Linked DNA regions of Homo sapiens: all the other regions are linked to region 1. Evidence: promoter capture Hi-C in 16 types of primary human blood cells and fetal thymus (Javierre and others, 2016). All regions are on one chromosome and are shown on one strand. Each heading gives the region's core, a stretch centred on a gene start or on the middle of the fragment in contact. The rest is flanking DNA. Distances are from core to core; before and after follow the strand shown. Region 1 holds the start of PHLPP1 (PH domain and leucine rich repeat protein phosphatase 1). Region 2 has its middle 23 kb from the start of VPS4B. Region 3 overlaps VPS4B (vacuolar protein sorting 4 homolog B). Region 4 overlaps KDSR (3-ketodihydrosphingosine reductase). Region 5 overlaps PIGN (phosphatidylinositol glycan anchor biosynthesis class N).

Region 1 (2,885 bases), core at 176-2,675:
CGCCCGGGCTGTCAATGGCCCTCGGGGCTTTCTGCTGCGGCTGAGGCGAGGAAGCCGTCTGGGGAAGCGGGAGGGGCTGCGCGGGGTGGCCGGGACGGCGGGGCTGGCCCGGGACCCCCGTCGGGGCCGAGGCTGCGTCGGCCTCGAGCTCTTCCGACGACGACGAGGAGCCGCCGCCGCTGCTGTAGGGGTCCAACCGGTCAGACACGCTCTCGGCGCTGGGACTCAGACTGAAGCTCTCGGTGTCGGAGACCACAGGCCGTGGGGCGCGGGGCGAAGAGACAGGGCCCCCAACGAACGGCTCGCCGGGGCTGGAGTCCGAGGGCGCTGGGCTGGCGCGGCGCGACCACCCGCCCGGGCCGCCGACGGGCAGGGGTAGGTCGGCGGGGGGCGCGCGCGGAGGCCCCCCGAAGGCACCCGGCGCGCTCCTCGCGGGCGGTACCTCCGAGTCCCGCGGCTCCGGGGGCGCCAGCCGGGGGCCGGCCTCGGGGGGCGGTTCAGCGGGCTCCCGGGCGGCGGCGGCTCCGGGCCCCTGGCCCAGCACCTTCACCACGCCGCCGCCTTTGTGGCCCAGCTGCAGCAGGCGGGCGGCCACCTCGCCGGCCGTGGTGTCCAGTGTGCAGAGCACCGGGCGCAGGTAGGTCGAGGCCATGTGGCGGTCGAAGACGTGCACGCAGCCGCGCTGGAGCTGGTGCCTCACCCAGTCCCGGTCCGACGGCTGCAGCTGCAGCGTCTGCCGGTGCTTCAGAAGCAGCGTCTTCCTGTCCAGGCTCCGGGTGCACAGCGACGCCGAGGCCGAGCAGGAGGCGGGGAGGCCGGCAGCGCCGGGGGAGTGCGAGGCAGCAGCGGCCGAGGACGACGACGACGAGGAGGCGGCCGCGGCGGCCGCGGACAGATTCCTCTTCAGCCGCCCTCTCCTCAGCAGGAGGGAGTTGGCGCCGCCGCCGGCCCCGGGTACGGGGGCAGCCCCGCCGGCAATGGGCTGGGGCGCCCCGCGCCGCCTCCTGCGCCCGGCACCCCCCGCTCTGCCCGGCAGCGGCCCCGGCGGCGCCTCGCCTGGGGCCTCTTCCCGCGCCCCGCTGCCGCTGCCGTTCCCGCCGCTCGGGGCCGCCGGGGTCAGCGCGGGCTCCGGACTCCGGCCGCCCCCGGCCGCCGCCGCCAGAGCCGCCGCGGCCGCCGCTGCTGCTGCTGCTGCCGCAGCGGCGGCCGCCGGAGCCGAAGCTCGGTCCTCCCTGCCGAGCTCGGGGAGTCGCTGTACCGTGGCCGCGGCGGCGGGCTCCATTGCAGTGGGGCTTCGCGTTTCCCCCCCAGCTCCGGAGGCAGCGGGCGGAGAGGGAGGCGATGAGGCGGAGGTGGGAGACGGCGGCGGCGCGCGGAGAAGGGAGAAGCCAATGGCGTTGTGCGCGGCCGTTCCAGGGGATTATGTGGCGATTCGGAGCATTCCGTCGGTGTCTCAGTGTTCCATCCCGCGCGCCCGCCTCGCCGCCACCGCCCCCCCGACACACGCCCTCCCCGCCCGGGTCGCGGGCTCCCCAGCGCCGGCCCCGCCCGCTACCCCCGCCTCAACCCGGCGAACCAGCCGCGGATCTGGGCTCATTGAATATTAATCATGCGCCGGGAGCGGGAAGGCGGGAGGCTGGCAGGGCGGGAGGGCCGCGTGTGCCTCATAAATATTCATCGCCGGCATGACGGCATTCCAGGGAGGAGTGGGGAGAGCCAGGGGATGGCCGGAGGCGGAGCTTCAGGGTAAACAAACGTGACGCGTGCGTACGAGGGCGGGGTGGGGGGCAGTTTCCCGGGAGGTTCCTGAGCCGGCCTCGGAGAGGGCAGTGAAGACCGACGCGCGCGGTAAACCTTGGGAGTTGTGGTTCTCGTAAGGGGATCGGCAATCCCGAGGGAAACATGGTGGACTACAAGTCCCAGCGGTCCTTTGGTTCTGCTTCTCCTGGCCGCCAGCAGCTGGCCGTGGCCAGTGAGTATTGTGCCCTCTGCCGTTGAACTCTGTGCCAGAGTTCTTAATGAACACGAATGCTCATGTTCATTAACTTGTATTTTACCCGCACTCCAGCTTGCCAGATGACTTTTATTTTCCCTACTAATTAAAGGTGAGGGCTTTCAGGGACTGTAAACGTACGAAGGTCGCAGGTCCTGGTCCTCACCTGCGCCCATTGTATGAGATAGAGATACACACCCGTCACACCACAGCATCACTGGCAGTCTGAGTGGGCCAACCTCACTTTTTCCCCACTTTTTCAAGACCCAGGAAGACAGGCAGCGTCTGGGAATTCTAACTGAGGCTGTCGTTGAATGTGCTTGTTCGAAGGCACAACCCTAAGTCTGTCCTCTCCCTCTCCTGTACCTGAAAAGGAAAATAGCAAAGGACTGAGGTTTCATTGTTTCCCATTGCTCTTGAAGTCTGAAGTAGTTTAATGACACAGAAAGCACTGGTAAGTAGAAGAAACATTAGAATGGAGTATGAGATGGGCTTTTTCCACGTGTTCTGTCTTAACGTCTTCTCTGGTTTTTTTCTTTCATCATTCAGGGAAAAAAAAAATAGTTTCTACTGCCACAATGTTTAGTCGTGGTCTGAAAAGTTGTATTTTTCGTCAGTTGAATCAATGTTGTAATCATTGGGCAGTTTACTATTTAAAAGAATGTTGTACACCTTTTTAATTGAATTACCATTCCCCCAATTGCTTTGTAATTCGGGATTTTTCTTTTCTTTTTTTCTTTCTTTTTTCTTTTTTTCTTTTTTTTTTTTTTTTTTTTGGCCACAGAGTGGGTCTGTCGTCCAGGCTGGAGTGCGGTAGCGCGATCTGGGCTCACTGCAACCTCCGCCTCTCGGGCCCAGGTGATTTTCCCACCTCATCCTCCGAGTAGCTGGG
Region 2 (2,885 bases), core at 238-2,737, 730 kb before region 1:
GTCCTCGGGATATGAATATGACAAGTAGCACATCCCTGATGTTAGGGAGCTCACAATCTAATCCAGGAACTGGGCACACACACAAACAACGGGATATACTTTCCAGCTATGTAAAGCAAGCCTTCAATTGTGCAACTTTGTTTAACAATATATCAAACAGTATATACCATTCCCATCAGCAGTGCCTTAATCATAAGTAAACACATAGAAACACCTAAAGGAGTACCCATGAAGCTACAGATGCGACGTACAACATGACAACAAACTTCACACCAGTGCCTTAGTGTTCAGTTTCCTTGCAAATTCAAGGAAATAATACTAATGAGTAATGGATCAGGTAGATCCTTTTGCTTGCAAGTAACAGAAACATAAGCTTGCCCACAGTGAAAGGAGACAGTATATGTCCATTTAAACAAGTAGGGTAGGCAAAGACCAGGGATTTAGCCCAGGCAGGACATTATCTCACTTCCTTTCATCTCTGCTTCTCTCTGCATGTTGGCCTCAGTCTACCGCTGCAGGTGGACTTTCCCCAGGCAACAGGAGACCTACAGCTTCATCAACACCTACCCCATGGCCAGAGAGCACAAAGCTCTATCCGGCCAGCTCCAGGCAGGCAGACCTCAAGGCAGCATGCTGATTGGCCAAACTCTGGTCACATGTCCATCTCCAGACCAATTAGTATTGTCCAAGTCTGTTACCAATGAAGTAAGTCCCACGGGTCACTGAATTCAAATTGTTCCATTGCAAAGAGTGTCACCTCTCAGATGCCCTTTCAGAAACCTTAGAGCAGTTATTATTGCAATGATTAAGCAACAATTAATAATAACAAGCCAAAGATCTTCCTTGATTTTAACTTCACGAATTTAAAATTTATTCTTATGTATACATAGCACTGAATTGTATTTGTTTAAAAGCTCAAAATCACTTTTTAATGTTTATGATATATTAATATACAATGTAGGACTAAGAAAAATTATACTTTTGTAGGCCAGGTGCAGTGGCTCATGCCTGTAATCCTAGCACTTTGGGAGGCCCAGGTGGGCGGATCACTGGAGCCTCAAATGCTGGAGGAGGCCCAGGGAGACAGCACGTCTCTATCAAAAAGTCCCCCCTGGGGTTACAGGTCATGACAACCCTGGAGGGGTAATGGCAGTACAAGAGTGTGTCTAGGCCGGGCACCATGGCTCACGTCTGTAATCCCAGGACTTTGGGAGGCCAAGGCGGGTGGATCACCTGAGGTCAGGAGTTCAAGACCAGCCTGGCCAACATGGCAAAACCCTGTCTCTACTAAAGATATAAAAATTAGCTGGGTGTAGTGATGCACACTTTTAATCCCAGCTACTCAGGAGACTGAGGCAAGAGAATCACTTGAACCCGGGAGGCAAAGATTGCAGTGAGCCGAGATCATGCCACTGCACTCCAGCCTGGGCCACAGAGGGAGATTCTGTCTCAAAAAAAAGAAAGAAAGAAAAAAGAAAAAAAAAAAAAAGAAAGAAAAAAGAAAAATTATACCTTTTCATTTAGTTGACTAATAACCATAGGTATTTGTGTTTATTACATACTTTCAAATATTAAATTATATTTCTTTTGAGATACTCCATAATTTAGAATTTTCCTTTATGTAAACTCACGTTTTTCCCAATAACTCTAAGCCAATGAGGCTTGGCTCCTCTCTCTGGGCCTTTCTTTCTCTCTCTCCTCAGTCAAACCCACCCTCTCTGCTGCTCCCATAAAACGTCTAGGAGAACTGGTTAATTTCCTCATAAGACAAGATATTTGGCTTTAGGATACAAATGTGACTGGGCAGGCTCTCTGCCCAGGGACTGGGCCCAGCTCCGAGTGGGGTTTGTTCCAACAGAGAATCACCCTAACAGGCCCCAACAAGAGGATCATGGGTTCCAGCTTCTAGGAATGAGGGCTTTTCTGCTACATGATGCCCAGCACCTTGTCTTCTGTGAATCTTGGCTCAAGAGAATGAATTCACACTTTGAGGAAGAATGGGGAAGAATTTTTGGGTGTGGTTTTTGGTTGTTCTGTGGGGGGTTTTGGCCATTAAAGAAAATAGCTCCCATTTCAGGCGCATATTCACCCCAGGAATGGGGTTGCTGAACTGTGCCTTTGAAGAATGAATGCTAGTACTCAAATCCATCATCACGATGGGCACCCTACCTTAGGGATGAAGTTTTATGTGGTAATAAGTAATAAAATATATATGTACGCATTTCGAGAGACATAGTTACATCTCATGGAATCAGAAGCAGAACAAGCTGTTTCCCCAGAGACTCTTTTTTTAACTTCCTGTCAGCCTCAGTGATGGCTCCACAAGTGTTTATTGCCAATGAGTGACATAATCGCTGTCTCATTCAGACAGCACATTTTGCAAAGACACTCCGTTTGACTCACTCAGACATACTGGGTGTGTGTGTGTGTTGTAATATTTCTATAAGCTACCACGTGCTTTTAATTTATTGAGTTTTCAAATGTCTAGGCATTCACTCAGGTTTAAAAGTAAGTACTCAAGAAATAAGCAATCTATATTTCCAACCACAACACTTGTTAAATTGAATAAACAGGAAAAAAAAGGAATGAAAAATAAGCTTTTTAGAACTATGTTTCAGGCTGAATGAGGTGGCTCACACCTATAATCTCAGCCGAGGCAGGTGGATAACTTGAGGTCAGGAGTTCGAGATCAGCCTAGCCAACATGGTGAAACCCCATCTCTACTAAAAATACAAAAATCAGTTGGGCATGGTGGCAGGCGCCTGTAATCCCAGCTACTCGGGAGGCTGAGGCAGGAGAATTTCTTGAACCCAGGAGGCAGAGTTTGCAGTGAGCTGAGATCGCACCACTGCACTCCAGCCTGGGCGACAGAGCAAGACTCCATC
Region 3 (2,885 bases), core at 281-2,780, 690 kb before region 1:
AATGGATAATATTCCTCAAACAACCCTTCCTGACTGCCTGCTAGTAGGAGGAGAGAATGCTTGTAGGAATAGTACTCAGTTACTCTCTGGCCATTAGCTAATATGGAAGCTTAAGGTTATAGGAGTGACCAGAGAGTTAAACCTTTGACCACATGGAAAAAATGAAAAGTAACTCCAACAATGTAAATTTTTTTTGGATATCTTATGCAAAATTTTTTGATGTGAATTTGTGTTAGATTTGCTTTATGTTGTCATTGTAAAGAAAACAACACAGCATAACTTATAAACGTTGAAACTGATTTTTGGCATGTCTTCCTAGATGGGGGATGTATCACTTCTAGATGCAGAATTTGTTTATTCAGTACATGACATATGCGTGCCAAGTTTGTGCTCAGCACTGGGAACATATTCTAACCACATCCTCTCTGGCTGTCCTATTAATTGATGCCAGTAGTTCCAGGTAACACACCCTTAAGAAAATGAGACTCTGGGATGGAGTTATCTGGCCTGCTTGGGTTTGAAAACAGCGAGATTCTGCTCAGCTTTAGAGGATGTGGTTCTCATTGTTCATGGTATGCAGTGGCGCAGGTTATTTAGACAATACCCTGTGGTCACAAGGAATGAAGTGCCTTTTAGGCAGTGCTTTGGGGCTTCGTGGCTGCTACCACAGACCATTTGGAAGTACATGAGGAATATAAGAACCAGTGTTGACTTGGCTGCTTCAAACTATGTGGCAGAGTTTGAAGGAAATGATAAGCTTAAGCTCAAGGTTTTATATTCTCTGTTCAAGATGTGATCGGGGAACCAGGGAGTTTCTGTGACACCCTAAGAACATGTTATCTTCTTCATCGATAGCACTGACTTAACAAAAATCAGATGATAGTCTGATCTTACAAATTACTGAATTCCAACTTAGGGTTTCTTATATGAAAGTGAGGACATTTGGTATAAAACAGGGACTCCAAACATGAAGTGAAAATATTGGGAAGAATTTAGTTGACCTTGACTGCCCAGGACCTCCAGCTGTCACTGAGACTCCCTTGACAGCAGAAGCTTCTCTTCCCTTGTCCATAGAAGCTCTTCTCTCTTGCTTGAAAACCCTGTAAGGATCTCTTCTGAGATGATTACCTGACAAGGCGATGCCAGTTTTTCTTTTGTACTGAACAGCAATCTTCGTTTACAGTAGGACCCACTTTGGCTAATTTAAGCAAAAAGGGATATATTATAGGGTATTACCTTACAGAATAGTGGGGCCAGGGAATCAGGAGAAATGGCCAACAGTACCAGGGTTGTTCAAGTAGGGATCCCACTGTTGCCAACTCCTCTGCTAAGCACTGATGGTGCTTGGGAGCAGGTAGTAAATCCTCTGCGCAGCTCCCTCAGCAAAACCAGTGCCTTCGCCTGAAGATTCTGTCTCCTTGTGAGCAGCCCCCACCTTCTTGGAAGAATTTAGGTCTCATGTGGAACCCTAGCTACAAGGGAGATGAGAAACGGCAGGGTTTTTTTTGTTTGTTTGTTTTTAATAAGGACAGCCTTTATAGTACTGGACAGCATGATAGAAAGAGGTTGGAGTGAGTGTCATGTGAATCTTTTGCAGTGTCTACCTCACCCACAGCCCCACCGTCCTATGATAACCAAGGCAATTCCATTTTGGCATAAAACATGTCATGCTTTTATCTCCCTTTATATGTTATTGTTTTAAAAATGATATAATGCCTTATTTTTGGCTTTATCACTTTTATACTTAACATTGTATCAGGAATATCTTTCCAATAAACTATTTCTACATCACGTTTAAATGTTGCAATGTATCCTGTCATATGCTAGTCCCTATAATATGAGTTACTTTTTCCCCTTTTGCAAACAGTGTGGGTGTGATTATCCTTATGGTCAAATGCTTGAACTTGTCTAAAATTATTTCCTCAAGATAAATCCCTAGATATGAATGAAATGCCTTGATCGACCTACTTGTTCTTTGGGTGTAGTTCATTGTCATCAGGAAGCTTCCTCTGTCCTTTGGAATCCCCAGACTAAGGGTTGTAGACCTTTGTACCTTAGTGTTCCAGATTTTTTTCCTCCTAATATGACCTCTTGTTCTAATTTATATCTTGCCCAGTCCTGATGTTTTTACTGTTGTTGTTTGCAGCTCTCCTGTGATTCATCTTGAATCCTTCATGGAGTGATGTGTGGGGCATGCATTTATGAATTAATACATACCTAAATATGTCATGGGAATTTGGAGCTAGTTCCTGACTTCATTCTGGTCTTTTTGTCCCTTTCTTTTACATGATTCTCTATTGATGATAACGTGACTGCTTCTTATTTACTACATTCTTTAAAATAAGTAAGCATAACTTTTAATGTAAATGTCTGATTTTGCCACTGAAATTACAAATATTTCAGGTTAATTTTTCCTTCATTTTTGCCTTATTTGATAGCAATGAGTGATCATTTGAATATATTAAATTCTTTTTATTAGGAATGACAGTGATGGGGAAGGAGAATCTGATGATCCTGAAAAAAAGAAACTACAGAATCAACTTCAAGGTTGCTTTAGATTTCATTTTTAAATTTACTATCCTATTAAAAAGACTCAAAGTGAATTGTCTATTTGAATTGTTTTTGTTCTCCCTCTATATTTAAATGAAGTTTAAGAACTGGCTTTGGTTCCCAATAGTCATGTGCTGGCTTTGTTTAGAGTGTTTTCTTAGGGTTTGCCCTCTAGGATCATGGTTTGGTCTTTTTTATGTAATAGTTTTGTTGGCTTCACATCTGCCTTTAAAAGGCTCTCAGTCAACTTGCTCTTTCTTTTTGTTTATTTGCCGCCTTTTAGAGAAGGTAACACTTATACTATTAGCACACTGCAAAATTTGATGGTATTAAAA
Region 4 (2,885 bases), core at 386-2,885, 620 kb before region 1:
ACATTTCTGTTAATGCGGAAAAATGCACATTTATGAGGGATGTCTGTAAACCACAGACCCACACTGAATTTGGAAAATCTATAGGACCATTGGAATGAGAGGTGTCAGCACATGGTGGACAGCCTTGAAGTGGCCTAAATGCTGTCACATTAGACTGAACTGAGCAGAATGAGAATAGTGAATTCTGTTGAAATATATACATGTGTGAAGAACTTTGTCCTGAGTGCATTAAAAGGCTCAGGAAGATGGCACAAGTGAGACTTTATTTTTCCTGCTTATCTCGGGTCAAAGCAAATGCATTTGGTGTTTTTTGTTGTTGTTGTTGTTTTGTTTGTTTGTTTGTTTTGAGACGGAGTTTTGCTCTTGTTGCCCAGGCTGGAGTGCAGTGGCACGATCTTGGCTCACTGCAACCTCTGCCTCCTGGGTTTAAGTGATTCTCCTGCCTCGGCCTTCTGAGTAGCTGGGATTACAGGTGCTCACAACCACACCTGGCTAATTTTTTGTATTTGTAGTAGAAATGGGGCTTCACCATGTTGGCCAGGCTGGTCTCGAACTCCTGATTTCGGGTAATCCGCACGCCTCAGCCTCTTGGCCAAAGTGCTGGGATTACAGGCGTGAGCTCCGTGCCCAGCCCATTCAGTGTTTCTAATGATGCTAAATAGCTCTTAGTATTTTGGCAGTATTCATTTAGTTTAGTGGTTTTCAAACTTTTCTTCTCTTGACCACTTTACATTCTTACAAATTGTCAACAACCCCAGAGAACTTTTGTTTATTTACATGGCTATATTTATTGATATTTGCCATATTTGAAATGGAAGCTGTTTGTAATATTTATTGATTCATTAAAAATAACAAAAATGGCTGGGCACAGTGACTCGTGCCTGTAATCCCAACACTTTGGGAGGCCAAGGCGGGCGGATCACCTGAAGTCAGGAGTTCAATACCAGCCTGACCAATATGATGAAACCCCGTCTCTACTAAAAATACAAAAATTAGTCGGGTGTGGTGACATGCGCCTGTAATCCCAGCTACTTGGGAGGCTGAGACAGGAGAATCGCTTGAACCCAGGAGGTGGAGACTGCAGTGAGCTGAGATTGAGCCATTGTGCTCCAGCCTGGGCAACAAGAGCAAAACTCCATATATATATATATATATATATATTCACATATATATATATATAAAGTCACATATATATATATATAAAGTCACATATATATAAAGTGACTTTTTTTAAACAAAATTTACTACTTTTCAAAACAAAAGTTCAGTGAGGACGGTGGCATTGGTTCACATTTTCACCAGTTGCTTTAAGGTCTGCATTAACAGCTGGATTCAAATAGCTGCTTCTGCATTCCATCTGTTGTAATAATGTTGTTTTGATGGAAGGATATACAGAAAATCTGGCCTGAGACAGATACGGAGTTGGGAAAGGGAAGACTATTTTACTAGGCTTTTCAGATAATTATGGACATTCTTTTTTGATATCAAACCCAAACTCAACAAATGGTAGTTTCTTAAAGGTTAGTTGCAGTATAGAATTGGAAACTACATCAATGAATGTTTTGTTCTCTGTTACATTAAATTCCATTGGTCCGTCTTGTACTTTGAATGGATCTTTTAACCATTCATGATTTCGTAACATTATGCATTAGTCATTTGGAAAATATGGGTTGACTGAGTGATCAGAAAAATCGCTTTCATCAGTATTACTGCTGATCTTATCATAAAAGTATGCAGCTGACAGTCTCGTGATGGTGGATACTAGTTTTTCCAAATCTTAATTTTTTCTTGAAGGCTCAGATTTCACATTGATGACACGTGGCCAGTTGTTTTTCCTGAAGTGACACACTTGCTTGCTTCGCTTTCTGCACATCTGCCACATACCTAAGTCTGAATTACTATAGATTTCCTGTCAATGGTCTTTCATATAAAAATTATGCTCTCCAGCCAGGCACGGTGGCTCATGCCTGTAATCCCAGCACTTTTGGAGGCCGAGGCGGCTGGATTGCTTGAGCTCAGGGGTTTGAGACCAGCCTGGCCAACATGGTGAAACCCCATCTCTACTAAAAATACAAAAATTACCCGGGTGTGGTGGTGCATGCCTGTAATCCCAGCTACTTGGGAGTCTGAGGCAGGAGAATCACTTGAACCTGGGAGGCAGAGGTTGCAGTGAGCAGAGATCACACCACTGCATTCCAGCCTGGGCCACAGAGTGAGATTCTGTCGAAAATAAATAAATAAACAATACAAATGATGCTCCATGAAAGAAGTGGCAGTTTAGCCCTTGACTTCAGGAGCTGCACAAGGACTTTTGTTCCAGGCAGTTGTCCCGCCCTGGAATGCAGTGCTGCGGAAGCGCGTTGGGCGCATTCTCATTTGTCACACAGAGTATTAAGAAGACATGTCCTCGAGGGTTGCCATTGAACAAAATGATGAATTTTCCTGCTTTATCAAGAGGATTTTAAAGCAAAACTGACACTTTGATTTTTAAAAGAATTTTAGAACTTGTATTTTCTTTGTGTATTATTTATTACTGCGAGTGCGTGTGGTAGTAGAGGTGACAATGACTCCTAGTACAGTTTGGCAAGAACCCCGTGGTTCTTGCCCATGTCTCTGCAGTTTTGCAGAGGCAAAACTGTATTTTCCATACAACACACTGTGGAAAAGACAATGAATGTCTTAGTGTTATTAGGACAATCATTTGTCCTTGGGGGCCCGCAGGGGTCCGTGGACTCACTTGTTGAGAACTGCCATCTGCCAAGGCCGTGCGTCCATTTCTGAGTGCTGATCAATGCTTTGTGACCATTTTATCTCACTTAAAGTGAACGAGCACACTCCACTGTTTCTGATGTGTCCGACTGATTTCTGTCCACATTACTAGGATT
Region 5 (2,885 bases), core at 211-2,710, 530 kb after region 1:
AGTGAGCCGAGGTCGCGCCACTGCACTCCAGCCTGGGCGACAGAACGAGACTCCGTCTCAAAAAAAAAAAAAAAAAAAAAAAAAAATCAATTCCGCTAATAAGGAGTCAAAGGAATTAACATCATTTCTCTTATGTCCCAAACGATTCTTTATCCACTGTCTCCTGCAACATTTCTGACTCGTTCATGCAGGCTAGAATCAAGGTTTTGGAACTTAGAACTATTTTAAAAGTTGAATGCTTCAGAGAGTTTTGATTTTTTTGATGAAATGTTAGCATATAAAGTACATATCCTAAGTTTAGAAGATCAACGTTTATCTTTTATGTCATTCCTTGATTATGATCTGAAAAGGTAAAGGAATTTCCAGTCAATACAATTAGACTGCTATTTCTTATGGCTCCTATTTTTTTCACACACAAATGACCACTTTTCCAGGCTTTAGATTTCCTTTCTTAGTGTACAGGTAAGTGACATATTACATTCAGTGTGTAGTAAACATTCCACAGTAAAGTATCTCCCGTTAGCTCCATGGAAAAATTAAAATAGACGATTCTTACATAACCTTAGGTCAGGTTATTGGTTTACATGTAAAAGTATGCCAACAGTTAAGAGTAGGCTTTAATTTCAATATACCCAGGCTCAATAAACTAAAATTTTCATTTGAATGGGGATTTGGGTTTTTAAAATTTTATTTTTGCTAGAAGTTTAAAAAAAAAGTACCAAGAATTTAAACTATTTTTTTATAGGACATTAGTTCCCAATGTTTTAATGATAAATAGTTTTCTGTGCCATATATTAAAAGTAAAACATGGGGAAAAAAATCCCCCCAAATAGAATTGAAATGGCAAATACTGTATCCTGTTAGAGATTTCTTAGCAAAAGGGATTGCTGATCCGTATTTTAGTTGGATTTTCCAGAGAGATTAAAATGGAACCAATTTCTGGAATCCAGGAATGGAGGATTAGTGAATGGCATGGGAAGGGCATGATTAGAAATGGATTGTTTATATACAATATTTCCATCTCCATGATTGGGAAATTGAGAAATCTCCTGCATTTAGGATTCCTGAAGAGGATTATGCTTATAAGATAGAAAAGCTTAAGTTCAGATCCCAATTCTACTCATTATTTATTGTGAGACCTTGAAAAAGTTACCTAACTTCTCAGCCTCACTTGCATTCGTCTATCAAAGGGGATAAGGAAAGTACACAGAATTGAGAATGTTCTTGTCCCAGTGCCTGGTACCTGCTACACAATAACTATTACTGTGGTCACTTATTAATTATTGAAATATTAGTATGTGTTGAGAACATTTGACAAGTGTTTAAAAATAAAACTAATATCAATCGTTTTGGCAGTGCAAGCCTGAAAAAGCAATTAAGTCAGTAGGGCTGAAGGGAGTATCTTTAATTTGGGGTCTCAGTTCTAAAACACAAGTTGAAAATAGATTTAAAATGTTTCCTCAGAGTTGTAAGAACTTGCATGTAGAGGAATTCTTCCCATACAAATCTGTGGTTTTCTGCTTCTATTTCTGCCTCCTATCCTATAACCATGAACTTGTGTGTTTGATCTTGTAAGCCCATTAGAAATCAACTGCCCAGTCTTCCCAGTATGTACTTTTCTTTTCCACAATACACAGAGGTTTGGTTATTCGTGAATAATGTATAAGTAACACACACTGGAATATTAAAAATTACCGATCACTACTTATAATAATGTATTATTAATAGTGTTGGGAAATTTCCTTTCTACTTAGTAAGATTTTCATTAATCTAGGCCCTTACAACTAATGTTTCATCTGACTAATGATAGTTATTAAAGCTTGTGCCTTAGCAATGAAGATGTAAAAGATGCCTTTTTTCAAAGCACGTCAATCATTTTAGTATTTAAAAAATTATTTTAGGTTTTAATAGTCTTAAAAGAACCACAAGTAATATTCTGAATGCAAGTTTTGGTTGACTTGAGGTTTTAGTAATACCTCATGTTTTATTGTTTTTCAGTGTGTGGTAAACATCCACAGATAAACTAGATAACTTGTATTGGTACATGCATATATCTTTTTAAAATTTTAATAGTTATGTGTTTGTTTTGGAGGTATTTCTTTTTCAATAAATCTGAATAAATTGTGATTTTCTTTAAAGAGAAGTATTAAGTAATATTTAGTATTAAGCAATTAAACTAATTAAAATAAGTAGTTAGTGAATGCTGATATTTTGTAATAACTGCAATTTTATTTACATTAATAGTAAATTACTTTATCATAAAAGGTTTAGTTTTTTTTTTTTTAAAGTATTTTCAGTCTTCACATCTTGTTCTGGAGGAACAAAAACAGAAGCAGGGCATCCTCTAGTGGCTGTAGTGCATATTGCATTTACCCTTGAAATGATAATTCTAAATAATTTATTCAGCAAACATTTGAGTCCTTACTAAGTGCATAAGACTCTGATGGGTGTTGGAGATGCCCCGTCCTGCTGTCATGGAATTGTGGTGAAGTGACAGAGACAGACATTAATTCAAATAGTCGTAGACAAAGCTATGTAATTACAAACTGAAGTAAAAGTTTTCGTTTCTGACTTCACCTGCATAGTCCCTGAGGAAGTGATGCTTGAAATGGAATGTTAGGAGAGAGTGGAAGATAGGTTGCAAGTACATTCTGCAGAGAGGAATTGAGCCTACAAAGGTCTTATAGCAGTGGGATACTTGAATAAAAGAAGGGGCCAGTGATGTGAGATGTTACAAAGTAAAGGGGAGTGCTATGAGACAGGTTTAGAAAAGAAGGCAGAGGCTAGTCTATAAAAGACCTTGTTAGTCACATTAAGGATTTTAGTCTAGATTAGTAGGTGAAAAGGCACTGGAGAGTTTTTTTTTTCCAGCTGTGACTTCATTT

What was found. Contacts are between HindIII fragments. The CHiCAGO score rates a contact against its expected background, and 5 or more counts as called.
Region 2: a contact is called between a fragment that was not itself captured here and the fragment with the promoter of PHLPP1 in region 1, in 3 of 17 cell types (total B cells, naive CD4 T cells and activated CD4 T cells). The highest score is 11.2, in total B cells.
Region 3: a fragment that was not itself captured here is called in contact with the fragment with the promoter of PHLPP1 in region 1 in 1 of 17 cell types (naive CD4 T cells); the score reaches 5.1 in naive CD4 T cells.
Region 4: a contact is called between a fragment that was not itself captured here and the fragment with the promoter of PHLPP1 in region 1, in 3 of 17 cell types (total B cells, fetal thymus and naive CD4 T cells). The highest score is 7.5, in total B cells.
Region 5: a fragment that was not itself captured here is called in contact with the fragment with the promoter of PHLPP1 in region 1 in 1 of 17 cell types (fetal thymus); the score reaches 6.3 in fetal thymus.

What each region holds. Positions count from the first base shown.
Region 1 is chr18:62,714,081-62,716,965 of GRCh38, reverse strand. It overlaps PHLPP1 (PH domain and leucine rich repeat protein phosphatase 1), which reads right to left and starts at 1,425. Exons shown (of 17, transcript NM_194449.4): 1 at 1-1,425. The coding sequence starts at 1,282. RefSeq lists silencers at 62-161, 472-611, 822-1,051, 1,402-1,691 and enhancers at 42-1,004, 1,962-2,071, 2,162-2,221. The HindIII fragment of the contact is 14,296 bases long and covers 1-2,885 here.
Region 2 is chr18:63,444,231-63,447,115 of GRCh38, reverse strand. No RefSeq gene overlaps it. Among named protein-coding and RNA genes, the nearest start is that of VPS4B, 23 kb to the right of the region's middle. RefSeq lists a silencer at 2,266-2,375. The HindIII fragment of the contact is 2,224 bases long and covers 376-2,599 here.
Region 3 is chr18:63,407,094-63,409,978 of GRCh38, reverse strand. It overlaps VPS4B (vacuolar protein sorting 4 homolog B), which reads left to right. Exons shown (of 11, transcript NM_004869.4): 4 at 2,480-2,547. Among named protein-coding and RNA genes, the nearest start is that of VPS4B, 14 kb to the left of the region's middle. The HindIII fragment of the contact is 950 bases long and covers 1,056-2,005 here.
Region 4 is chr18:63,335,390-63,338,274 of GRCh38, reverse strand. All of the region lies in intron 8 of KDSR (3-ketodihydrosphingosine reductase), which reads left to right. Among named protein-coding and RNA genes, the nearest start is that of BCL2, 17 kb to the right of the region's middle. The HindIII fragment of the contact is 6,476 bases long and covers 1-2,885 here.
Region 5 is chr18:62,183,243-62,186,127 of GRCh38, reverse strand. The region is part of intron 1 of PIGN (phosphatidylinositol glycan anchor biosynthesis class N); the gene reads left to right. Among named protein-coding and RNA genes, the nearest start is that of PIGN, 2.4 kb to the left of the region's middle. The HindIII fragment of the contact is 723 bases long and covers 1,099-1,821 here.